5 separate regions of the Homo sapiens genome follow, and regions 1, 2, 3 and 4 are each linked to region 5. The links are contacts of gene promoters, found by promoter capture Hi-C in blood cells and fetal thymus (Javierre and others, 2016). All regions are on one chromosome and are shown on one strand. The core of a region is centred on a gene start or on the middle of the fragment in contact, and the rest is flanking DNA. Distances in the headings are between cores, read along the strand shown. Region 1 overlaps SPRR2G (small proline rich protein 2G). Region 2 holds the start of SPRR2D (small proline rich protein 2D). Region 3 holds the start of LCE4A (late cornified envelope 4A). Region 4 holds the start of LCE2C (late cornified envelope 2C). Region 5 holds the start of IVL (involucrin).

Region 1 (3,184 bases), core at 284-2,783, 240 kb after region 5:
AGTTGGTTTTCAATGAAGGTGTCAGGGTAATTTAATGGGCAAAAAAAAGAAACTTGTCAGCAAATGGTACTCAAGCAATTGGATATTAATATGGGAAATAGTGAATCTTGATTCTTACTTCACATATACAAAAATTAATTCAAAATATATCACTAAGATAAAAAATAAAACATTCTGCAATTCTGGAGGAAAACAGGAGAAAATCTTAGTTACAGTGGGTTAGGCAAATTACCATTAAAGCTAAGTATCCAAAATATACTAAAAATTCATAAAAAGTAGTCAGAAAAAAACAGCTCAATAGAAATGGGTAAAAGCCTTTAGCAGGCACTTCACAAGAATGTATGTCAAAATGATTAATAAACATATTTTTTAAAACTTCTAAAAGACATTAATATTTAATAAAATGCATATTCAAAGTACAATAAAAGATAATTATGCCCATACCAGATAGGTAAACTATGAAGGGTGACATTGATTGATTAGCTGAAGGAGGGAAAGGAAGCATAAAATCTACTACACAGCTCTAGGCATTTAAATTGGGACAGCATTTTAGAAAACAGTTTGGCATCACCTACCAAAGTTGAAGATGCACATACTTCTGGGTGTATATCCTAGAGAAATGTGTGAGCTTGTGCACCCACAGGCAGGAAGAAAACATCATGATGGCACTATTCATAACAATACCAAATAGGGAACAACCCGATGTCAACCAAGAGTAGAATAAATAAGGATACAAAAGTGTTGTGTATTTATACAATGATATGCTAAAATGCAATCATGAATAAGCAAAAATTACACAATGATGGTTGAAAGGAGACAGGCAAAAAAATGACATACTGTATGGTTCCATTTATATGCAATTCAAAAACTGGAAAACTTAACTATATCTATTAATATAGATCCCTCTATATTAATGGTTAAAAAATAAAATAAAAAGCAAGAAAGTAATTATGTTAAATGTCAGCAGAGTGTTTACTTCCAGTGATGAAAGTATAGAGTGTTATTGAATAAGGCAATGTGGAGTCTTTAGAAAGTTTGGTAATGTCATTTTTCTTCAATTTGGCATTGGTTGCATGAGTGCTCAGCTTGTAATTATTCGCCCTGTACAGCTAAAGTTTATGAACTTTCCGAATGTGTTGATTATATTTCGCCTAAAATAAAGGATTTTTTATTTTTGTTTTTCTTAAAGACAAAATGTGGCCTGGGGGTTAGGAGGAACTGTCAACAACATTAAGCCAGAGCTTTATTCAACAGCTTACTGTTAAGACAATAACTTGGAGTTATTCTGTATTGCCTTGTGTAAACTTTACCTTCTAACATTCCTGTTGGGGCTTGGAGCACAGCAAGAACAAAATTCCCTAAGCATTCTGCTAGCTGCAATTTGATGAAACTAATCAAATATATTTCCCTTTAAGATGTGAAAACAGGTAGACCTACTTTTCATTTGGGCAGTCCCTCTTAGCAAAAGAGTTTTAATTAATTCCTCAGTTCTTTTCAACTTTTAAAAAAATATGTTTGAAATACCCTATGTACTTCTGGTTGAAATGCTATGCAAAAGTAATTATATACAATTGTTGAGTTATGTACAATAAAATTTCAAGACTTTGACCATCCTAAGATGGCTGTCAAACTTCAAGTATATATCGAAATCATGACTGTATCCTAGAGATCCAACCTCTCTGACCTCATTTGCAGACATTTCTCCTTGACCACCATTTTCCTTTTTGTTATTTTGTATTTCTTTTTTTTTTTTTTTTTTTTTTTTTTTTGAGACAGAGTCTCGCTCTGTCGCCCATGCTGGAGTCCAGTGGCACGATCTCGGCTCACTGCAAGCCCGCCTCTCGGATTCACGCCATTCTCCTGCCTCAGCCTCCCGAGTAGCTGGGACTACAGGCGCCCACCACCACGCCCGGCTAATGTTATTTTGTATTTCTTTAGCACTGGCCATTTCTTCCAACAGGAACAATCTACCCCTGATATACCCATGGCTCCCTCTTCTATTCATTCATGTCTTTGAGCCAAAAGTCACTTCAAAGGGTCTTTCTAAATAATTTTCTTTAAATATAGCCCATGTATTACTATAATTTGTCCTGTGTGTGGGAGGTGTGTGGGGGTCGGGGGGTGGGGGTGATATGTAACTCTCTTAAGACTGTAGACTCTATAAGAGCAAGGACTTTGTTTGGTCATCATTATCCCTATCAGCAGTGCATAGAAGACTGGCTGGCACATGATAGACAATTAGGAAACATTTGTGAATAAATCAATTGCTATGAGTACACTCAGCTGAATACATGCTCTCTTACTTTTTACAGATGATGAAACTGAAGCTAAGAGAGTTTAGGTAATTTTTTCAGCCATACAAGCTAGAAGGGGTAAAAATGAGTTTTAAACCAATAAAAGAGAATTATTTGTTGTACCGAATCCAAAACACACATTGCACGCAACACTGAATTCAGTGATGGAAAAGCCTAATAATTCTAATAATTCAATAGGAATGAAAAGGAACATTCACTTGGTGTAGTTAACAGAAGAGGTTAAAGACACGAAATGCAAACAAAAGCAATGTGGGCTTGACCATGAAACATGTGCTTTATTGGGGAGAAGCAAAAGAATAAACACACTTGCTCTCAGGATAGGAACCACCATCTACATCACAGACAGCAAAGCGAGATTAGGCAGTGATCTGGCTGCTCATCTTCCAACAACATATCGGTTTTCAGAACTAAGCCTTTTCTCTGTCAACGCTCAAGCCAGACAGAGGTTAGGGAAGATGCAGCCTCCCACTACAGCTGAAGGGAAGATGATGGAGTCCTGGGAGTAAGAAGAGCCACTGGATCTTGTTGTTTCATGGTCCTGATGAATTCTAGTGATGTTACTTGCTCTTGGGTGGATACTTCTGCTGGCAGGGTGGGTATGGTTGCACAGGAGGGCATTTATCCTGGCATGGTGGAGGTGGGCAATGCTCAGGTGGACAAGGAGGAGGCAGGTAAGGCTCAGGGCACTTCGGGGGTGGACATGGCTCTGGGCACTTTGGCGTGGGGCACACAGGAGGTGGCTGGCAGGGCTGCTTGCACTGCTGCTGCTGGTAAGACATCTCTCCTCAGTCTCAGAGAATCTGAAAGATACATACGAAACAGTGCTCATAAGAGAGACAGTCCTGTTGGTGGAGCAATTAGCTAGGACA
Region 2 (3,591 bases), core at 642-3,141, 130 kb after region 5:
TAATAGTTCTGTTTTAATGATGATGTACTGCTGCTAATAGACTACTATCAAATGAGTAGTAATGATATGTCAGAAATTGTGTCAACTGAATTCCTGATATTAATTCCATTTTATGCCTAAGATAAGTTAGTGATATAAATATTATTTTCCACATTTTAAAATGAAGAGATTAAAATTCTGATTGATTTGTTCTTCAAATCAATCAAACACTAATTAAGGAAAATAAAAGGGGTTTAAAATGATATAAAAATAATCATTGTTATGGCCCAAAATTCAGATAACAATAATTGTGAAATCCTGGTCCTGGGGATCAGAGAAAGGTAGAACAAAATCCAAATAATCATATAATATTACTAATAAAGCAGATTCTAAAAGAAACAAAAGATCCATTCACAAATATATATGCATAGATACTTTATTCAGGGAGTGAAAGATAAATGACAATTGCAAAGGTGGTAGAAGCTCATGACCAGGTGACAGACAGACACAGAACACATCAACAGAATTGTCTGATGGTTCCCAGGGAGAGAGCTGCTGCTCTTTCTTCCGAAGCTCTGGGAGCTGGCACAGCTGAGGACTTCCTTTTCTTAGCTCCACCTGGACAGTGGCAGTATGGCAGCCTCAGAAAGGGAATCTTTTGCTGTCACAGATCATCACAGGCAGGCCACAGGTTAAGGAGAAAGAAGCTCCCTGTGCATCCATGGAAGGCTTTGGTGAGAAGATGCAAGTGGAGCTGTGGAACGAGGTGAGCCAATTATCCTTATCCTCTCATGCTCCTGATGAATCCTGAAGCTGTTACTTGCTCTTGGGTGGACACTTTGGCTGGCAGGGTGGGGAAGGTGTCACAGGAGGATATTTCTGCTGGCACTGCTGAGGTGGGCAGGGCTGTGGACACTTTGGTGATGGGCAGGGCTCAGGGCACTTCGGGGGTGGACATGGCTCTGGGCACTTTGGCGTGGGGCACACAGGAGGTGGCTGGCAGGGCTGCTTGCACTGCTGCTGTTGATAAGACATCCTGCTGGAGTCTCAGGATCTGAAAGAAATGATACAACAGTGTTTGTGGGAAGGGACTCCTCCAGAGAGAGAAGCTAATGCTTATGTAATACCATGAAATATTATTTCCCCATCTCCAAGAAATTATTTAAACTCTTAACTGCCTTTTCAAGACTACTTCGTTTCTCCCTTCCACTTTAGCAAATTGCTTCATTGGCCCTGGGAAATCTTGTGTTTTCTCATACAATTTTTCCAAAGAAAATATCTCTGTAGTAATGAACCAAGCATGTTATTTCTGTGAAAATAACATCTTTAGGAAAGGCAGTGACAAGTTCAGATACCATGAGCAATCTCACAAGCCATTTCTCTTATCATTATCTGTAGTAAAGTCCCAGTGGGTTGACTTGAGCACAGAACAAAGGGCTGTTTGGGAAGGATTGCAGGCTCTTGGCACCTGTTAAGACACAAACCTTTGAAAAAGACACCAGGAAAACATGGGGAAAAAATACTTTGTTCTTTTTTCTTCTTCAATTCAAAGCTTTCCTATTAACTTCTCTGTCCGTATGGACACCTAACTGTATACAAGAAACAAGCTAAAATAGCATATCACTGTACTCTAAATCTAAATTTCCATCTACTAAGTAGAATCAAACCCATGGTTACAGAATTGTATCAACCAAACTTGCTGTTTTCAGATTAAATTCAATATTTCAGGTCACAAAGAACTGAGGAACTCAAGGACTCACACTCACCAGGTTCTCCAAAGCAGATCGGTGCTAGAGTACCAGGAGTTTAAGAGTTGTGCAGCAGGGAACCTCTTTATAGGACGTTCTGCCCCACCCAGTGGGAAGTGGAACTGCCTAAAACTGGGCTGGTCCAGCAATGTCCAAAGTAAAATGCAAATGTATCCATATCTGGCATGAGAGGCATTCTCAAACTAGGAAATATCCTGTTCTGGGATCTCCCCACTGGGTTAAGTGCTCATGAGTCACAGAGAACCTGCCTTAGATCTCAGTTTCAGTGACTTTCGTCAGAGAGATAATTGGAGGGATTCTCTAACCGGTTGTCAAGGGCTCTCTTTCTTGATTGGGAACAATGATCCCTTCCTATCTTACCTCCCCTGAGTCATAAAACTTCCTGTCCTGATCCACTCTAGCTGAATGCCATATTGTTGTACATGAACCCAACTCTACCTCTACTTTCCTCATACAGTTGGCCAATGTGCTAGAAGGAAGGAGAGACTTAACAAAGGCCTGAGCTAAGCTTTTTCTTTGCTAAGTTCCATGACAACAGGCATGTCACCTCTCCTCCCTGGGATTATAAACAGGGGACAATAATACTTACCTCTGGGTTTGCAGGCTGACCACATTGTGCTATCTGCTGACCCTGTTCAAGACTGAAATTTTCTTTGCCACCTTTTTCTCAGATAAAACCTCAGATTTTTACCTATATTCCTTTCCTCTTTGAAGCTGTCTTCTGCACCACATTTGTAGCTTCTGCACCACATTCGTAGAGGCACTTGCATCCCAGGACAGATTTGAGAGTGAGATCTAGTCTCCACAGCACGTTTGCTACTTGGTGCCATCAAGGATGTGTACTACAGCCTTTTTATTTATAAAAAGTAATGGAGAGAAGGAAACTAAAGTTACAAGTATTGACTCAAAATCTATGTATGGAACCATGCATATATGGTTCCCTGTGAACATCCTATAGAGAACAAGCTGCATAGACATTATCATATGTAAATAATTAGAAGTAGGTGTGCAGAGTGAGGAAGGTAAGAGCACTTAAAGTTTAACTCAAGGGGAAAATACAAACAAAGGGTAATCCAATATGTATTCTTCCTCTCTATTTCCAAACAGGTTTTAGATGTTTCTCAGTGTTTTTTAATTTGTTTGCATGTTCTTCCTTTGTCTTTTCCATAAACCTTCTAGTCCCACAAACTGCTAGATTATCAACTCATACCCAATGTATACCTGTCATCTGTCCATTTTGGTACATATTGTTCACTTAACACATATGTTGTCAATGCATTTAGTGATTGTCCTTTCACAACTTTTTTAAATGCTTCCTACAATCAGTGAGCCTTTCTAAGTACTGTATATTAAACATTTAAAGTGATGTTGCTACTGCTTCCTTATCTGGACCATTAATCGGGAAGCTTCCCAAGAACATGGTTTTATAAGTGAATAAGAAGAAAGGAGAATGAGGAAGAGGAAAGACTCAAAATCACTGGAGCAGTCACCAACTGTGCTCCAGGAAGGGCAGAGTGTTGAATCAAGCCAGCATCACATCCCTCAGTTAAGTAGGTTAGGTTCCCAGAACAGCTGTTGCTCCTGTCAGTAAGGAAGAGCTTTTAGCCAAGATCACCACTGGCCAGGACACTACAGAAATAGAGCCATCATGTCAGCACCCTGAGGCCAGGTGATTACAAATGGTGTTCTCACCAAATGCTTCCTATAGACTATTACACATGCCACGCACTTCACCAGCCAAAGTAAAAGTCCTTTACTCAATAAATCACCCACTACTCCCCAAGAGCCTCACATCACATCTAAAACATAAATCCATAGAGAAATGTCTAATTTCTGCCATGCA
Region 3 (3,340 bases), core at 209-2,708, 200 kb before region 5:
GTTGAGGTTCAGCATCACTATCTAACTTCTCAGGTGTTTCTGTTTCTCTCTCCAGTTCTACTCTGAGGTCCTGAGGACAGGAACAAGGTTAATTCATTGTATTTCTCACATAACTGAGGCAGTGCTGGTCACAGATTAAGAGCTCAATGTGGTAGGTTGTTGCTTGTTACCACATCCCTCTATAGCTGATGATTTGCTTGCCAGAAACACCATTAACATGGGGCACTGGATTGGGAGAGAGATGGAAAATGGGAGGACATTCCTACAATAATACTTGCCAGAAAATCTGCCTTCCACAACAATTCCGTTCCTGCTGTCTAATACTCATTTTCTGAGTTAGTAATAGCAGAAATTACTATAAAAGTAGGTAATTTCTGTCTTTACAGAGAGGAAATATAGGCTGGGGGTTTAGTCATCTTCCTTGTCATCATTATCAATGTCTTCATGTTCATTAATATCAGCTAACTTTTGTCATTGTTAGACATCTATTTTGCATAGTAGGTATTTCCAGAAGTACCTCGTGATTATATGTGTATATACGTATAACATATATGATATACATAAGGAGAAATAAATCAATCTTAATGGGTTGCATGAAGAGTTGTATCCTATATAAACCTTTTGAGAATTAGAGCAACACACACCAAATTTCTTTTTCTTGTTGGTTTAGAGTGTTTTGATGGGTAAAAGGGAAGAGTTTTTTCTATGATGGGAAAAATATTTTCCTCATAATGATCTTCTTATATGTTTGTTGAAGAAAAAAAATCAGTCCTTTTTTTAAAAAATGGTTGCAATAAATGCAACTTGTGTGTGTGTGTGTGTGTGTAGTTGACAGACAGATACTTCCACAAAAGGTTCCTGAATTGGTAAAAGTCTCAAGTCTCTGATCTGTGCTCATGAGCTACTTAAATGCAGCAGAATCACATACACAACACACAACAGAAAAACTCAGAAACTCCTACTCAAAAGGCCCCTTGATGGTGACACATTCCTTGGTAACCCAAATAGAAGTAGTCAAATATGATAGCCTTTGAATTCCAGGCTGAAGGGTTCATAGAAGAGAAATTCTAAAGAGAAGAGTGGCTGACCGAGGGGCATCTCTCTCCACAGTTAGGACTGGGGACTTGGCCTGGTCTAAAAGCATGGGAGATACTCTCTAAAAGAGTAAGGAGGCCTATGGCACCAAACCAGCCTCTCAGGATTGACTGACCTGGGAAAGGCCCAGAGCCTCTGGCTGAAATTTGGCTGGAATATGTTAGGGGCTAAATGTGGGGCAGTCTTGGAGCCTTTGGTGCCAAAGTTCTTCCTGAGGGACTGAGCAAAGCGTGTTCAGAGGGAGGCTTGAAAGGTAAGTACCCATAGCCTTAAACCCCTCTGTTTGCTGTACATTGAGACCTTAGCCTGGGAAAAGGGTCTGATTTACAGAAAGTCTCATATAGTCACCCCCTCTCCCACTAGTGCCGAAGAGGCTATCTGGGAAGCTCATCATCCAGCTCAGGAAGAGATGAAACCAGGAGGCAGGAGAATGTCAGGCATGACCCCACACTTGTGCAACAGCCACGTCCTGCTCCTGCCATTAGCATGGCTCATCCGAGGCCCAGCCCCAGGATCCATACAAAGTGTGTTCCTGCTGCTGGCTTCTCATCTGCTCTGCTTCCTAAGGGACGTATCTGTTGCTGCGTCTGAACCCACGGTGAGTGTTTCTATAGGAATCCAGAGGGGGACGCTAGCGGGATGAAGATGGAGATGGAGAGTAATTCTGGAAGTCGAACAGTGAAGCGTGGAGTAGGAGGAGGATGACATGGTGGACAAGGCCAGAAGGCCAGAAGTAGTAGTTGGCTCTGGACAAAGCAGGAACCAACCTGGGAAGGATTATCCCTGTGATCAGACAGGAAGATGATGAATGACCTGGGATTGCTACATCCCTACCAATGGTTGGCCTGCTGGTCCTAAGCCCATTGCTCTGAAGGAAGCTTTTCTCTAACCGTGCAGATCTCAAATTTATTATTATTTATTAAACAGATTTTCTACGAATTTCTGAATTCCATTTCTAGATAAATTCATGTGGGTAGAATTGCAATGTATTTAACATGTCTTTGAGATGGCATTCAAATTTTGCTGGCTTTATTAGCTCAGAAGTCACTTATTAACCACCTAACAAATACTAAGAATTTTTGAAAGCTCTAGGGGTACAAAAGTAATGAAGATATACTCTTTGTCTGAAAGAGGTTTCTATACATGTCCATATTTTAGATATTCCTCTTCATCACCTTGGGGGAGGATTTTAAAATAAAAAAAAATGTAATGGCTCTTGATATTAAGTTTCTGTATATGTTTCTATTTTGTCATTCAGGTTTATCGAAATCCCACCAAGATGTCCTGCCAGCAGAACCAACAGCAGTGCCAGCCCCCTCCCAAGTGTCCTATCCCCAAGTATCCCCCAAAATGTCCCTCAAAGTGTGCATCCTCATGCCCACCTCCAATCTCTTCCTGCTGTGGCTCCAGCTCTGGGGGCTGTGGTTGCTGCAGCTCTGAGGGAGGTGGCTGCTGCCTGAGCCACCACAGACACCATAGGTCCCACTGCCACAGACCCAAGAGCTCCAATTGCTATGGCAGTGGCAGTGGCCAGCAGTCTGGGGGTTCTGGCTGCTGCTCTGGAGGGGGCTGTTGCTGACCTGGACCAGGAGCAGCACCAAAGGAATTAGTGGGCGAAGGACCCATTGCAGCCTGGTGTTTTACCTCCTTCACTCTCTTGCCTTTCCTTTCTGTAGCCCCATCAATTGAATAAACATGCAGGTTTGCGTCTCATCAACTTCAGGCCTTGGATTTGCATTATTTTAGCTTTATGTCAATATTTATATTTCTCAGATTATTGAAAAATTTTCTGATGTGCTTTGCAACAGTAAATTTACTTTCAAGTAATTTTCTAGTCCCAGTTTGATGGTGGTTTTTATTCCACTTTTCTTCACTTTTACCTAAATCCCAATCCTTTTCCTAGATAGAAAGATAGATTTATAGCTTTTACTGAAATAGAGAAAAATCAACCAATTAAACTTTAATGAATTACTTATTTGTGTACACATACCTTCACGAAAATCTAAAATTCTGCAGTATTTGTGAAAACAATAAATAAGGATTGATTAGAATTCCAAGATAAACCTAACTTAAATTTAAAAAAAAATTAGTGGTGAAATAGCCAAGTCAGTAAAGTTGTTTGGACAGAAAAATCTAATTTACTTAAGTTAAAAAAATGTACTTACTGCTCCATACATTTTCTAAAGCAATATTCTCTTTCTCTCTGTCTCTCTCTCTCTGTGTGTGTGTGTGTGTGTGTGTGTGT
Region 4 (3,142 bases), core at 146-2,645, 230 kb before region 5:
CCAGGCTCTTGTTCCTCGGATGCCCTGAGTCAGCTCTTCAGGGGTCCAGCCTGGGAGAGGCTGTAACTGGCTAAAGCCTCATCCCCTTTCTATTTCCAGAGATTTGCCTACTCTACACATTTCATATAAATAACATCATACAATATGCAGTCTTTTGTGACTGGCTTCTTTCACGTAGTGTAATGTTTTCAAGGTTCACACTCAATGTATCTGTTTAAACTAAATGAATAAATGACTGGGTAACTCTGTCTAGTGCAACCCTGAATCAGAACTCTGAATAACTAGATTCCTGGCTGACCCTCTACTTCCTGGTAGGAAAGGAGTTCCCTCTGCATAGGAGCCCCAAGAAATGATGTCTACTTCCCAAGACAGGTTTCAAATAATCTAAGTGTCTGGTGGAGTTAAGCTCTCTGAGGGTAAGGGCTCTATATGGGCAATTAATGACACATAAGACCGGGGCAAGTATCCAATACATGGCATTAGTTTTTCTATTAAACATATATTTATTAAGGGTCTATCAGGCACAAAATGTCATACTTAGCTCTTTCTTGCTTCTCACTTTATATTACAAACAGCTCAGTGAGATAGGTATATCTCACTGATAGGTTTATAATGGGCATTATATGTGAGAACTGATACTCACAGTGAGTATCATAGTAATACTCTAGCAATTATTGATAATTGTTACAGCAACTTTCAGAGATTACCCAGTTATCATATGCAAGTTTTCTGATTCCAGTAGCACATTCAATACAAGTCCTCTGACTGAAGGAAATGTTTAGATTTTAGAGGGAATTGTTTATTCTCAATCATTCTCCTTGCTTTAGGTGACAGAATCAACTCAGATTTAATCCACCGAATCTGCTTGCCATGGTGAGTCGGAGGAAAAGCAGAAACACAGAGGCCAGGAGGAAGGGCTGAGAGCCTAGGCAAGGGAGGGATGCCTAGAAAAAGCCAAGGCTGTAGAAGCCCTCTGGGATGGCTGGATCCACAGCAGGACATGGAAGAGAAACTGCTCAGGGTGGAGGGAGTCATAATGGAACATTTCCACAAGGTCAGGGAAAGCTGTGGCTCAGAACTGATGTTTCCTCAGAGGACATGCATTAAAAAAATGCAGGGAACAGAATCTTGTCCAGGTGTGGGTCCCTTGGGTACCCTAAGTTAACTCTTTAGGGTTCCCACCTGGTGGAGGCTCTGACTGGCTACAGCCTCTCTAGACTGCAGCCCCAGAGAGGAGTCCTGGAAGCTCCTGAGGCCTCTTTGGATTGCAGGGACTAAGAGGCAGGAGAATGTCAGGAATGACCCAGCGTGTGCCTGGTTGTGCAAGAGCCACCTCCTGCTCTTTCCAGAGCCAAGCCTGGGCCCTATAAAAGACACATCCAGCTTCAGCATCTCATCTGCTCTGACTCCCCAGGGACGTGTCTGTGCTCCTGCGTGTGACCAGGGTGAGTGGCAACCTGGGATACCAGAGGGGTATGAGCAAGGCAGAGGGATGGGGAGGATGGAGGTAGGCTGGAGAAAGAGTTGTGTGCTTGTGTTCTGCCATACTGAGCAGGAATGGGACTCAGCCTGCCTCGAATCTGTTGAGGCTCTGAGGCCTACCGGAGCTCATATAGGTGGGGAAAGCTAACTGTGCACATCTTTTCCAATTCTGTGTTCAGTGACTTCATGTTGGTAACTTCAAAACTGCTGTGTTGGGCATATTTACACCATGGAAACTGGCAAATACTTCAAGCCAGGCTCTTTTATCTGGAGGTTTCATTGCAAAATATTTTCCAGAGGACCCCTTGGTATGTCCTGCAACACCCAGCTTGTCCTTAGGGCTTGTATTAAAGGAATAGGTACTTCAGGGAGCTGTGAATACTCTATTCGGGCTTGTGAGGATAGAGCAATCGCAGTTTCCCCTGAAAGGAAGAGTAAGAAGCTCATTCTGTTGATTTTTTATCTACGTACTTTTATCTAGAGGAAAGATTCAAGTTGTTTCTTTCAGGTTACTGATGTGATTGTATTATCTAAATATCATTCTTCTTCTACACATGCATTGATTTTAGAAGAGGTATAATATGATCCTTGGTTTGAAATATTTAAAGAGTTTCATTATTATCTTTCAGGTTGACTAAACTCCTGCCAGCATGTCTTGCCAGCAAAACCAGCAGCAGTGCCAGCCCCCTCCCAAGTGTCCTCCCAAGTGTACCCCAAAATGTCCACCTAAGTGTCCCCCCAAATGCCCACCACAGTGCCCAGCTCCATGTTTCCCTGCAGTCTCTTCTTGCTGTGGTCCCAGCTCTGGGAGCTGCTGTGGTCCCAGCTCTGGGGGCTGCTGCAGCTCTGGGGCTGGTGGCTGCTCCCTGAGCCACCACAGGCCCCGTCTCTTCCACCGGCGCCGGCACCAGAGCCCCGACTGCTGTGAGAGTGAACCTTCTGGGGGCTCTGGCTGCTGCCACAGCTCTGGGGGCTGCTGCTGACCTGGGCTACAGAAGAGCTCTTGGGACTGAATGGCCAAGAACCTGCTACGGCCTGATGGATACTCTTTCCACTTCCTCTCATTCCATTCATTGGTTGGCAGAGACCACAAAGACTCATGGGGCTTTCCTGGAAGAACTTCGTGCTTGATGTAACACCCCAATTGCAAGTCTTCTTTTCCTCCTTTACCTCATGTTATAATAAAGCTCTGATCTCTGACTCACTAAATGTCTTGGTCATTCTCTTCTCTTCTGAGATTTCAAATGTCCTCCAAAGGTCAGGGCCTCAGAGTAATTTTCTTCATGAGGCTAGGACAGGACATGAGTAGGTGATACATGAAAAGCTGCTCTGAGGAACTGATTCCCCCAGATGCTGAGTGAATGGAGCTCCAAGAGGGTCACCTCTGGCTATGGTAGCTTTGCCTTTCTCTCCACTAAGCCAGACACATGTTCTAATTTTCTGTGTAATCCAGACGTTGGGAAGGTTGGGAAGCTCTGCAGACTTGTTCTTCTCTAGGGAGAAGAACACATCCCTATGAAGCAAAACTTTCCTGCCCTTAGAATCAATAGTTGGATAAAATGCTTGAAACAGATGTTGAGACCCTTCCTCCTGTAAAGTACAGCCCATGGTCACTCAGCTTCTTTTCATGAGTCTGGTTAAGATCAGCCTTTTGACTTGC
Region 5 (3,354 bases), core at 209-2,708:
AATGTTTAATAGTCATTATTTTCGGGTCGTAAAATTCACTGTTCTTCAATGAATACTTGTAGAGCACATATTATATGCAGTAGTTTTGATAGGTTCTAGGGGTATAGTGGAAAACATACCAGGTATACGCTGCTCTTAGCTTATTTTCCAGTGGGAAAGATAGACAATAAGCAAGTGAACAAATGCAAATAAATTACTCTAGATTGTTATAAGTGAAATTAAGTACCAATCCTTTAGATATGGTACACAGAGAAGGATCTCTGACAGACCCCAACATTGACACTGAAGCTGAAAGGCATAAAAGAACCAGAGACCTGGGGAGGGGCCGGTGGGCAGAAGGAGAGCAGGTGCCAAGCCCCCAGGTGGAGAGCTCTGGGCTCATCTCAGGAACCGAAGGCCCTCAGTGAGGTAAGAATATACCTCTCAGGGAGAGATTGACATGAATTGGGGCCCCAGAAGAAGGCAGAAGCCAGGTACCCAGGGTCTTTTAAACCACGGCAGTGAGTTTGAATGTTATTTCAAGTGTGCTGGTGCACTGTTGGCACGGGGGAGAGATGTGCTCAAATCCCCACTCTGAAAGATTTCTTAAGCTATTTCTAGAGTATGATTTACAACAGGAAATGGATGATTTGATTCTGATCTTTATACCTTCATGCATTTAAAAAAGTACTTAAGAAAGTAGTTTGGTTTGTCATTATAAAAAGCAATACTTATTTTTATATTGTGTAGATTCAATCTTGTTTCCTTGCCTAGAGTGGGCCGTGCTTTGGAGTTCTTATGAGCATGGCATTCCTGAGAACTTCTCTAACTGCAGCCTCGGGCATAGAGGCTGGGCAGCAAGTGGCAGCAGCAGAGGACTCCTAGAAGCCTTCTACTTGACTCTACTTGGCCTAAAGTCAAACTCCCTCCACCAAAGACAGAGTTTATTTCCACATAGGATGGAGTTAAAAAATATATTCTGAGAGAGGAAGGGCTTGTGGCCCAAGAGAACACCCCAGAAATACCACCCCTTCATGGGAAGTGACTCTATCTTCAAACATATAACCCAGCCTGGACATCCCCGAAAGACACATAACTTTCCATTTCATGCCCTTGAAAGTGAATCTTTTGGCCTAATAATGAGAACAAACTCATTTTGAAAGTGGAAAAATTGAGATTCAGAGCAGAAGTTTGACTAAGGTCACAAAACAGTAGGATGCCTCACTCAGCTCCCTGTGCCTAGGTCAGAAAAGCATCACAGGAATAGTTGAGCTACCAGAATCCTCTGGCCAGGCAGGAGCTGTGTGTCCCTGGGAAATGGGGCCCTAAAGGGTTTGCTGCTTAAGATGCCTGTGGTGAGTCAGGAAGGGGTTAGAGGAAGTTGACCAACTAGAGTGGTGAAACCTGTCCATCACCTTCAACCTGGAGGGAGGCCAGGCTGCAGAATGATATAAAGAGTGCCCTGACTCCTGCTCAGCTCAGCACTCCACCAAAGCCTCTGCCTCAGCCTTACTGTGAGTCTGGTAAGTGTCGGATGGTAGAACCAGGGTTGGGACTCGGGACCTCCAACAGCATACGATGTGGTGGGGGTGGGCAGCCTGGGTGGGGGTGGGCATTACTCTGGGGCTGGATTCAGCTGGACTTTCATTCTAGGGGGACTCGAGTCAGAGTACTGAGAGAAAAGTGCCTTGGCACAGAAGTGCAGAACAGAGAGTAATCATCCTATGTCCCATCTTTTCTTGTGACCATATTTTTGGATTTGTGTGTGAGAGAGAATTATGGAAGGGAGGAGGGGAATAGCATTCAACTTCTTTCCTAAACCTCTTGGGTTTTGACAGACCATCATTTTGCCTTCTTTATGGAGGGAGAGGTTCAGGGAAGAGCTTCTACCTTTTGGCTATGCTGCACAGAGGGATGGCAGAATGGGGAAACCTTTCTATTTGGAGAAACCTAGGCAGAGCTGGGACAGGAAAACTCAACTTAGAAGTATAAGACTTGGAAGAACAACCTCCAACTCTCAGCAACCTTCCAGCTCCCGCAGCCCCACCCCAGACACAAGGACTGCAGCTAAACCTCAGAAGGTCAGGAGAGAAAGCAGCCCTGGGGTTGAATAGGCCAACCTGCTGGCTTTACAGGGGGGAAAACCAAATCCCAGGAGACTAAGTGACATGCCCAGAAACACACAGCATTCCAATGGGAGATTCAGGCCTAGAGCATGTCCTGTGGCTCCAGTCTGGAGGTCACACCATGACCTCTTAGGTCCTCTCTGGCACGGCCTATTGGTTTTCTAGGACTTGGTGTTCTCCAAGAGACATTTCATTCCCTAAGGCCTTACTCCTCACTGTGACATAATCCCAGAACGCATCTCTGCTCCTTGGTCAGTGAAGCGATGAGGGTGGACACAAGGACTAGACAAGAGCAGACAGTGAGCTGGCACCTGACCCACCCTTGCAGAACAGCCCTGCAGACAGATCTCCTTGTTGGCTCTCACCTGGGAACAAGGAGGCTCCTAGGAGGACCTTTCTCTGCCCCTCCACATTTCCACCCTTCTCTCTCTGCTGCTTTTGGGAAATGATAGTCCAGAGGTGGTAGAACAGTACCCTGCCCAAGGGAAGAGGGGATGCTAAAAAACCAGATACTTCTGCAGATTCCCAAGGTTTCATCTATTTCCTTTGCCTTCAGCCTGTGCATCAGACCTCTTCTGTCTTTCAGGTTGACAGTAGCTTCTAAGATGTCCCAGCAACACACACTGCCAGTGACCCTCTCCCCTGCCCTCAGTCAGGAGCTCCTCAAGACTGTTCCTCCTCCAGTCAATACCCATCAGGAGCAAATGAAACAGCCAACTCCACTGCCTCCCCCATGCCAGAAGGTGCCTGTCGAGCTCCCAGTGGAGGTCCCATCAAAGCAAGAGGAAAAGCACATGACTGCTGTAAAGGGACTGCCTGAGCAAGAATGTGAGCAACAGCAGAAGGAGCCACAGGAGCAGGAGCTGCAGCAACAGCACTGGGAACAGCATGAGGAATATCAGAAAGCAGAAAACCCAGAGCAGCAGCTTAAGCAGGAGAAAACACAAAGGGATCAGCAGCTAAACAAACAGCTGGAAGAAGAGAAGAAGCTCTTAGACCAGCAACTGGATCAAGAGCTAGTCAAGAGAGATGAGCAACTGGGAATGAAGAAAGAGCAACTGTTGGAGCTCCCAGAGCAGCAGGAGGGGCACCTGAAGCACCTAGAGCAGCAGGAGGGACAGCTGAAGCACCCGGAGCAGCAGGAGGGGCAGCTGGAGCTCCCAGAGCAGCAGGAGGGGCAGCTGGAGCTCCCAGAGCAGCAGGAGGGGCAGCTGGAGCTCCCAGAGCAGCAGGAGGGGCAGCTGGAGCT

The links. Contacts are between HindIII fragments. The CHiCAGO score rates a contact against its expected background, and 5 or more counts as called.
Region 1: a fragment that was not itself captured here is called in contact with the fragment with the promoter of IVL in region 5 in 1 of 17 cell types (M2 macrophages); the score reaches 5.6 in M2 macrophages.
Region 2: a fragment that was not itself captured here is called in contact with the fragment with the promoter of IVL in region 5 in 1 of 17 cell types (naive CD4 T cells); the score reaches 5.1 in naive CD4 T cells.
Region 3: a contact is called between the fragment with the promoter of LCE4A here and the fragment with the promoter of IVL in region 5, in 5 of 17 cell types (M1 macrophages, naive CD8 T cells, naive CD4 T cells and 2 more). The highest score is 8.6, in M1 macrophages.
Region 4: the fragment with the promoter of LCE2C here is called in contact with the fragment with the promoter of IVL in region 5 in 16 of 17 cell types (naive CD8 T cells, activated CD4 T cells, total CD4 T cells and 13 more); the score reaches 16.0 in naive CD8 T cells.

What each region holds. Positions count from the first base shown.
Region 1 is chr1:153,147,017-153,150,200 of GRCh38, forward strand. SPRR2G (small proline rich protein 2G) reads right to left here. Exons shown (of 2, transcript NM_001014291.4): 2 at 2,566-3,115. The coding sequence starts at 3,094. The coding sequence ends at 2,873. Among named protein-coding and RNA genes, the nearest start is that of SPRR2G, 2.3 kb to the right of the region's middle. The HindIII fragment of the contact is 4,559 bases long and covers 1-3,184 here.
Region 2 is chr1:153,039,333-153,042,923 of GRCh38, forward strand. It overlaps SPRR2D (small proline rich protein 2D), which reads right to left and starts at 1,788. Exons shown (of 2, transcript NM_006945.5): 1 at 1,746-1,788; 2 at 400-1,033. The coding sequence starts at 1,014. The coding sequence ends at 796. The HindIII fragment of the contact is 725 bases long and covers 1,530-2,254 here.
Region 3 is chr1:152,706,702-152,710,041 of GRCh38, forward strand. LCE4A (late cornified envelope 4A) reads left to right here and starts at 1,459. Exons shown (of 2, transcript NM_001387222.1): 1 at 1,459-1,693; 2 at 2,354-2,733. The coding sequence starts at 2,375. The coding sequence ends at 2,674. The HindIII fragment of the contact is 2,492 bases long and covers 1-1,971 here.
Region 4 is chr1:152,673,884-152,677,025 of GRCh38, forward strand. LCE2C (late cornified envelope 2C) reads left to right here and starts at 1,396. Exons shown (of 2, transcript NM_178429.5): 1 at 1,396-1,445; 2 at 2,112-2,686. The coding sequence starts at 2,133. The coding sequence ends at 2,465. The HindIII fragment of the contact is 8,836 bases long and covers 1-3,142 here.
Region 5 is chr1:152,907,088-152,910,441 of GRCh38, forward strand. IVL (involucrin) reads left to right here and starts at 1,459. Exons shown (of 2, transcript NM_005547.4): 1 at 1,459-1,502; 2 at 2,692-3,354. The coding sequence starts at 2,711. RefSeq lists promoters at 1-2,699, 560-1,499, 1,219-1,453, enhancers at 1-226, 1-141, 1,060-1,339, a cis regulatory region at 809-1,305 and silencers at 1,074-1,126, 1,499-2,699. The HindIII fragment of the contact is 6,184 bases long and covers 1-3,354 here.